2 separate regions of the Homo sapiens genome follow, and region 2 is linked to region 1. Evidence: promoter capture Hi-C in human tissues and cell types (Jung and others, 2019). All regions are on one chromosome and are shown on one strand. The core of a region is centred on a gene start or on the middle of the fragment in contact, and the rest is flanking DNA. Distances in the headings are between cores, read along the strand shown. Region 1 holds the start of AARSD1 (alanyl-tRNA synthetase domain containing 1). Region 2 holds the start of TUBG1 (tubulin gamma 1).

What was found. Contacts are between HindIII fragments. The study calls those that stand out against the background at their distance.
Region 2: the fragment with the promoter of TUBG1 here is called in contact with the fragment with the promoter of AARSD1 in region 1 in 2 of the 25 tissues and cell types used here (aorta and mesendoderm cells).

Annotation. Positions count from the first base shown.
Region 1 is chr17:42,961,671-42,965,703 of GRCh38, forward strand. It overlaps AARSD1 (alanyl-tRNA synthetase domain containing 1), which reads right to left and starts at 2,784. Exons shown (of 12, transcript NM_001261434.2): 1 at 2,732-2,784; 2 at 2,436-2,567. The coding sequence starts at 2,770. It overlaps PTGES3L-AARSD1 (PTGES3L-AARSD1 readthrough), which reads right to left. Exons shown (of 17, transcript NM_001136042.2): 7 at 2,436-2,567. The HindIII fragment of the contact is 19,831 bases long and covers 1-4,033 here.
Region 2 is chr17:42,608,313-42,612,618 of GRCh38, forward strand. It overlaps TUBG1 (tubulin gamma 1), which reads left to right and starts at 1,371. Exons shown (of 11, transcript NM_001070.5): 1 at 1,371-1,474; 2 at 1,796-1,908; 3 at 2,111-2,278; 4 at 3,763-3,831; 5 at 4,115-4,194. The coding sequence starts at 1,426. It overlaps RETREG3 (reticulophagy regulator family member 3), which reads right to left and starts at 1,062. Exons shown (of 9, transcript NM_178126.4): 1 at 774-1,062. The coding sequence starts at 1,012. RefSeq lists an enhancer at 944-1,053. The HindIII fragment of the contact is 7,237 bases long and covers 1-4,306 here.

The DNA of each region.
Region 1 (4,033 bases), core at 1,534-4,033:
ATGATCTGATTTTTCCTCCCTCCCTCCACTCCATCCTCTTGCAGTGGTATTAGAATTAGATTCAAAAATGTTCATTTAGGCTGGGCATGGTAGCTTATTCCTGTAATCCCACCACTTTGGGAGACCAAGGCAGGAGGATCGCTTGAGATCAGACTGGACAACACAGTGAGACCCCACCTCTATGAAAAATAAAAAATTAGCTGGCCATGATACTCCCTGCTACTTGGGAGGCTGAGGTGGGAGAATCACTTGAGCCCAAAAGGTTGAGACTGCAGTGTGCTATGATTGCTCCACTACACTCCAGCCTGGGTGACAGAGTGAGACACTGTCTCATTTAAAAAAAAAAAAGGGCCAGGTACAGTGGCTCACACCTGTAATCCCAGTACTTTGGAAGGCCGAGGTGGGCGGATCACAAGGTCAGGAGATCAAGACCATCCTGGCCAACATGGTGAAACCCCGTCTCTACTAAAATACAAAAAATTAACTGGGCATGGTGGTGCACACCTGTAGTCCTAGCTACTCGGGAGACTGAGGCAGGGGAATTGCTTGAACCTGGCAGACGGAGATTGCAGTAAGCCGAGATCACGCCGCTGCGCTCCAGCCTGGCAACAGAGCAAGACACCATCTCAAAAAAAAAAAAAAAAAAAGTTCATTCATTTTAAAACATTTCAAGTGCCAACTGCTTACAAAAGACTGTGCCAGCCCAAGAATACAATGTAAACAAGATATGGTACCTCATGGAACTTAAGAGTCTAGAGAACAGAGGCTGGAAAACAGACAATTGCAATATGACCTATAACATGCCATAATATGAAAAAGTATATGACGCTAGAGAACCTCAAAGGAAAGAGACCTAACAGTCTTGGGGAATCAAAAAAAGACTTCCTGAAAGAAATGCTGTCTAAAATGAGACCTTCTATGGATACTTGAGGTCACAGGTTTTCCTTCAGCAGATCAGGGAAATCTTCATACTGGGAAAATCACCATAATAATGACTGATATGAAATTGGAACTCTCTCAATACCAAGTCTACTGAACATGTTCTCTCATGTCACTTATTTGCTTAAGAACCTGAGTGGAGGCCAGGGCAGTGGCTCACACCTGTAGGCCCAGCCTTTGGGAGGCCAAGGTGGGAGGACTGTTTGAGGCCAGGAGCTCAAGATCAGCCTGGGCAATAAAGTGAGACCTCATCTCTACAAAAAAGCAGCCAAGCATGTTGGTTGTGCGCCTGTAGTCCCCACTACTGGAGAGGCTAAAACAGGAGGATTGCTTGAGCCTGGGAGTTCGAGGCTGCAGTGAGCTAGATCAGGCCACTGCACTCCAGCCTGGGTGACATAGCAAGATCCTGTCTCTTAAAAATAAAAAAGAAAGAAAATAACCTGCATGGTTCGCTGCCCACACACCTTAATACACCTTTTTTTTTTCTTTTGAGACGGAGTCTTGTTCTGTCCCCCACGCTGAAGTGCAGTGGCACAATCTTGGCTCACTGCAACTTCAGCCTCCCGGTTCAAGTGATTCTCATGCCTCAGCCTCCCGAGTAGCTGGGACTACAGGGGCCTGCCAGTATGCCTGGTTAATTTTTATATTTTTAGTAGAGACAAGGTTTCATCATGTTGGTCAGGCTACTTGGGAGGCTGAGACAGGAGAATCACTTGAACCCAGGAGGCGGAGGTTGCAGAGCTGAGATCATGCCACTGCACTTCAGCCTGATGACAGCGAGAGATTCTGTCTCAAAAAAAAAAAGAAAGAAAGAAAGAAAAGAAAAGAAAGAAAAGCCTTTCTCATAATGCCCACCTTTGGTGTTATTATCCTCCTCTTCCATCTTCACAATGTACCTCACTTGCGCTCATGTTGTACCTAGTCCTCATCACAGCACTGATAAATATGCTCTCTGCTGTACTACTGTAACCCGTCTATCTCACCTGAACTCCTTCAGGAACATCTTTTTCAGTCCCTAAAACCCGAAGCTAATTCCTTCCTTGGGGCCTTTGCACCTGCTATTCTACCTGCCTGAATACTCCCTCTGCCCCCCAGCACCACTAGATAATTGCAAAGACTCACCCCCTCACTTCGTTTAGGTCTCTACTGAAATAACTTACCCTTCATCTAGACAAGCATCCCATCACTCTCTTTCCCTTTACTTGGTTTTTGTTTATTACTTATTATACCTAGCACACACAGTTGTCTTCAATAAACATTCCACGTATATAAAGGCACTGTGTTGTTCACCGGTTATCCTTACAGCCTGGAATAATATCTAGCATATGTTATGTCTAGATAAGCAATTGCTGATAAATACTCATTAAATGAATAACAAAATGAATTAAACTAAAGCTCATCTGAATTCATTATGGCTGAGAAAAAAGGGGCAGGAGAGCATTTCGGCCTGAGCACAAAGAAACTGGGGGCTTCCTGGGAAGAGATCGTTTTGGTACCTGTCCCCCGCCCTCAGGGAAAAGCACTGTGTCTTCCAGCACCACTTGGAAACCGCTCAGCACTTCTTTCTTGCCGTTGCTCCCTTCAGTCTGCAGCTCCGCGGGACAGCAGGAGACCACGGTGGTGGTGAACTGAACAGAGAGGAATGAGAGAATAAGCCCCGACCCCAGCCCTAGCCCTAGCCCTCTCCACACCAGGACAGAATGCCATGTTGGCACTCCCTACACGTGGCGCCCTCTTCCCCAAACCGCCTTGCCGGCCCGGCAGTCTCAAGTGCCTCGCCGTGACGCCGTACCTCTCGGGCATAACTGTCACGCTGACACCAGAACGCCATACCTGCAGGCGTGTGAGGAGGCGCACGCGCAGAGAAGCCTGGGAGCGAACGGAGAGCGACGTGGGACAAACGTCATCAAGGGCGCTTGTCTGCGCAGAAGCAGGAGGGTAAGGAATGGAATGCGGTTTGGATAAATTTACTGAAAACGCGAATTGCATATTTGCTGGGTTGTTTAACGACTGTTCTAAGGCTTTACAAAGGACAAGACCAGGAGGAAAAAAACAAACAAACAAAAACAAAAAAACGCGACCTGGACAAGGCACGTGGTTTAGTGAGCCCCTTGGGGCCCCAGGGATGTAAGTATTCTGGCTGCGGAATCCCAGCGCATAGAGGCGGGGACGGGACTGGCATGGTTACTGAGCAGCACTGCCCAGTAGAAATAGAAAGCAAGGAGCTGGGGGAGGTGGCTCACGCCTGTAATCCCAGCATTTTGGGAGGTCGAGGCGGGTGGATCACCTCAGGCCAGGAGTTCGAGACCAGCCTGGCCAACATAGCGAAACTCCGTCTCTACTAAAAATACAAAAATTAGCCGGGCGTGGTGGCGGGCGCCTGTAATCCCAGCTACCCGGGAGGCTGAGGCAGGAGAATCGCTGGAACCCGGGAGGCGGGGTTGCAGTGAGCAGAGATTGCACCACTGCACTCCAGCCTGGGCGACAGAGCGAGACTCCGTCTCAATTAAAAAAAAAAAAAAAAAAAAAAAAAAAGGCCGAGCGCGGTGACTCACGCCTGTAATCCCAGCACTTTGGGAGGCCGAGGCGGGCGGATCACGAGGTCAGGATATCGAGACCATCCTGACTAACGCGGTGAAATCCCGTCTCTACTAAAAATACAAAAAATTAGCCGGGCGTGGTGGCGGACGCCTGTAGTCCCAGCTACTCCGGAGGCTGAGGCAGGAGAATGGCGTGAACCTGGGAGGCGGAGCTTGCAGTGAGCCGAGATCGCACCATTGCACTCCAGCCTGGGCGACAGAGCGAGACTCCGTCTCAAAAAAAAAAAAAAAAAAAAAAAAGAAGAACAATTTGGCCAGCGTGGCCAACATGGTGAAACCCTGTTTCTACTAAAAACACAAAAACATTAGCCAGGCGTGGTGGCACACGCCTATATAATCCCAGCTACACGGGAGGCTGAGGCAGGAGAATCACTTTAACCCGAGAGGAGGAGGTTGCAGTGAGCCGAAATCGTACCACTGCACTCCAGCCTGGGTAACCCAGCGAGACTACGTCTCAAGAAAATTACATTACATTACATTAAAATAGTTTGGGC
Region 2 (4,306 bases), core at 121-2,620, 350 kb before region 1:
CAGAGCATGACACACACAAATAAAGCATATTTACAGTGCTACTTTTCCAGCTCAGGAAAACTCACACACAGTATTAGACATCAATTTCCTTGCCTATAAACCATGGCTAAGGATGCCTCTCTAATTCCTTGGAACAGGGAGGAGTTACAATCACAGGTGGCTTTGACACGCGTGTAATCTCCGTCATCATTTCCTAACTGTTCTTTAAAAGCTTGTAATTTTCTTTCAATTTTCAGCTTTGGGGGCTCACACTGACGCTTAGACTTCATAAACTTCCTTCCTAGATATATAACATGCTAATTCATGCGAATCGCTCAAGCTTGTTTTATAATCACACCTATGGATACCTTTGCAAGACTTCACGCCTCTACTCCAACAATAAACTACTAAAACCTCTGGAAACAATCTAGAACTTGCACTTGAGCAGACAAGAGAAAGGAAGTGATGGCTTTAAAGGGACGCAGCTTTGTCGGGCTCAAAAGAGGAGCCCTCGCTCACTCTTGAGCGGCTCAAGATGTTACCAGAAGCTCCCGCCAGATGTGCGGGGCGGGGGTGCGGGCACAGGTAAGGCAGAGAAGATGGGTGGACGGCCCTGGGAAGAACTAGGGTGCCGAAGCCTGCAGGCGGGATGGAGTGGAAGGAGGTGAGGCAAAATTAGGCAAGTACAGGAAGGAGCCAGTGCAGCGAAGAAAACAGGGCAGGCGAGAAGTAGAGCCCTAGAGGAACCAACGAATTCGGGACTCGGAGGGTTTCCGAGGGTCCAGTTCTCTCACCAGAAAGCCGCGTTCAGCCCCAGGCACCACAGAGCGCTCCTAGCTGGCCGCTCCCACACCAGGGCTGCCTGCACCCGACTCAGCAGAGGCTCGTAAGGCCCCAGCACCTCCACCAGGGCCCGCTGCGCCGCCTCAACCTGCTGGTCCCGCTCCCAGGAGCCTGACACATCTCGGCGGCCCCTGAAAGTCGACCCCGAAGCCGGGCCTGGGGTCGTGGGAACCCCTTCGGCCTCAGCCATCTCCCCGCGGCAGCCACAACATCCGGGGCCGTGGCCCGACAAGTCACAATAACAGCAACTGCGCAGATGCGCGATTCGGCGGGGGAGGTGGCTTCGCACCACAGCGCGCTTGCGCGCAGGCCCAAGCAGGCGCCCACCCAGAGGGGAGGGAGGACGCCGTACCCCGCCCTCACTGAGGCGCGGAGCCGGATCCGGAGGCGCCGAGCCGCATCCGGAGCCGCGCACGCGCAATCTGCATGAACGAAGGCCAGTGCTTAAAGACGTGCCATTCATTGCCAGAACTCGATTCTCATTGGAGCGGAGGAAGTTCGTGGGTGGAGCTGGTTGTTTGGCGCCTGCGTCTTGCGGCGAGCGGGCTGGCGTGCGGCGCCGTTGCGGGCGGGAGCGGCTGCAACGCCGGTGCCTGAGGAGCGATGCCGAGGGAAATCATCACCCTACAGTTGGGCCAGTGCGGCAATCAGAGTGAGCGAAACTCCGGCCCCTCAGCTAGCCAGGTTCCTTAGGGTCAATGGGATCTCGCTGTGGGATCCTGGACTCCATCTGTCCTTGCCAGAATCGTAGTTCTCTGAAAGGCGAGACATCCCTGACCCAGTGTCCACTTGCCCAACCCCGAGGGGCCCTCCCCTGCCCAGTCCCTGGCGTACAGTCCTTTCCTCAGACACGGGAGAGTCCTGCGGCTTGACTTCTTATCCCTGGACGCAGGCGCCCAGTCCCCCGGCTCCTGATTGGAACCTGCCCGGACCTAGATATCTTCTTTCTCCCCTGCCCGCCCCTTCCCCCCAGTTGGGTTCGAGTTCTGGAAACAGCTGTGCGCCGAGCATGGTATCAGCCCCGAGGGCATCGTGGAGGAGTTCGCCACCGAGGGCACTGACCGCAAGGACGTCTTTTTCTACCAGGTGCCCCCAGCGACTTGGCCGGGGGCGGCAGTTGCCCAAGGGGGCGGAAGGGAAGGGAGTGGCCTGGTACTGGGAACCCCGCTGGGCAGTAGGGCCAGGCGGCTGGCTTGAGGAGGGAGGGCCGGAGGGAGCCAGAGTTGGGAGGACTTCGGACTTGGGCCGCCCTAGCTGATTGGGCCCCCTCCTGGACTCCCCTTGACAGGCAGACGATGAGCACTACATCCCCCGGGCCGTGCTGCTGGACTTGGAACCCCGGGTGATCCACTCCATCCTCAACTCCCCCTATGCCAAGCTCTACAACCCAGAGAACATCTACCTGTCGGAACATGGAGGAGGAGCTGGCAACAACTGGGCCAGCGGATTCTCCCAGGTCGTTTCCTATTCCCTGGCAGGGCCCACAACTCGCTGGGTAGGGACAGGCTCTATGACGTCCCGAAGAGAGGGAAAACCGGATCAGGGATGTATGAATGCTGGAGGGAGAGACCTGGCTGCAGGGAGTGGACTATGTAATATTGTCAAGCGCCTACACTAGCTAATGCAGTGTGCCAGGTCATTCTAAGTGCTTTACATATATTAATTTTTCTAAATCTCCCAACAACCCTAGAAGTAAGTACTACAGGTCCACAGTCCCTTATCTGCCTTTCCAGGATCCAGAAAGCCATGAAACCAAAGGACATTTCATAACTAGTTTATCAGCAAAAACAAATTTCAATGAAGACAGGCTGTTTTATAGTTTCTTTTTTTTAATTTTTATTTATTTATTTTTTTTGAGACGGAGTCTCACTCTGTCGCCCAGGCTGGAGTGCAGTGGCACGCTCTCAGCTCACTGCAACCTCTGCTGCCCGGGTTCAAGCGATTCTCCTGCCTCAGCCTCCCGAGTAGCTGGGATTACAGGTGCTTGCCATCACGCCTGGCTAATTTTTGTATTTTTAGTAGAGACGGGGTTTTACTGTGTTAGCCAGGGTGGTCTTGATCTCCTGACCTCGTGATCCACCTGCCTCGGCCTCCCAAAGTGCTGGGATTGCAGGCGTGAACCGCCATGCCCGGCCCTATAGTTTCTATCCAACTTACTGTCATTAGTGATGCCTTTTATTACAGAAATACTAATATATTTGATTAACGTGCTTCTGATTAAATAAAAATTCCCACTGGAATTTTATTTAATATATAGTATATATACCATAATACCTTTCTAAAATCTGAAATATTTTGAATTCCAAAACATAACTGGCCCCAACACTGTTAGATAAGGGTATATGGACCTGTATTATTACCTTCATTGTACAGATGAGGAAACTGAGGCATAGAGCAATTAAATAAGCTGCCCAGAGCTACATAGAAGTAGAGTTAATGGGCCAGGCGTGGTGGCTCACGCCTGTAATCCTAGCACTTTGGGAGGCCAAGGCAGGCAGATCACCTGAGGTCAGGAGTTCAAGACCAGCCTAGCCAACATGGTGAAACTCTGATTCTACTAAAAATACAAAAAATAGCTGGGCATGGTGGCATGCGCCTATAATCCCAGCTACTGGGGAGGCTGAGGCAGGAGAATCGCTTGAACCCAGGAGACGGAGGTTGCCATGAGCCAAGATCGCGCCACTGCACTCCAGCCTGGGAGAAAGAGAGAGACTCCATCGCAAAAAAAAATAGAGCTAATGTATGAACCCAGGTAGTCTGGGTGTAGAGTGCTTTCTTGTAACCACTGCACCGTACTGCCTCTCAATGTAGATAAAAGCAGGTAGCTATGCTCCATAAAAGGACTTCTGGGTGTTATAAGGAGAATTGAGGGTGGCTTTTCTGAGGTCAGAGACCTCCCATGGTTCTGTCCCACTCTGACCCTCCCCTATGTCTGTACAGGGAGAAAAGATCCATGAGGACATTTTTGACATCATAGACCGGGAGGCAGATGGTAGTGACAGTCTAGAGGTAAGTGTCCCAGGAATGCTGGTAGGAGCCGACATGGGCAAGGCTTGGCAGCACCCTCTAGAAGCGACCTGTTAGGAACAAGACCCACTCATGTACCCTTTGCACTGGACAGAAGCTATCAGGCCTTGCCAGAAACAAGGCAGTTGCCTAAGCTGTATAAGTGAGGGGACTGGATGGGAAGCAAGGGCTCGGGAAAATGGGAGTCCTAAAAAACTATGAGATGGGTCTAGTTTGACATCCTGCCACTAGATACCTGTACACTGACTGCCCCTTCCCCATGCAGGGCTTTGTGCTGTGTCACTCCATTGCTGGGGGGACAGGCTCTGGACTGGGTTCCTACCTCTTAGAACGGCTGAATGACAGGTAAGTTTGTGTTTGGGGATTAGGAAAGGTCTCCAACTTGGCTTCCTAAATGACTAGGGGACCCAGCAGATATAACTCCATATTTGCTGGAACAGGAAAGAGTTCTTATATT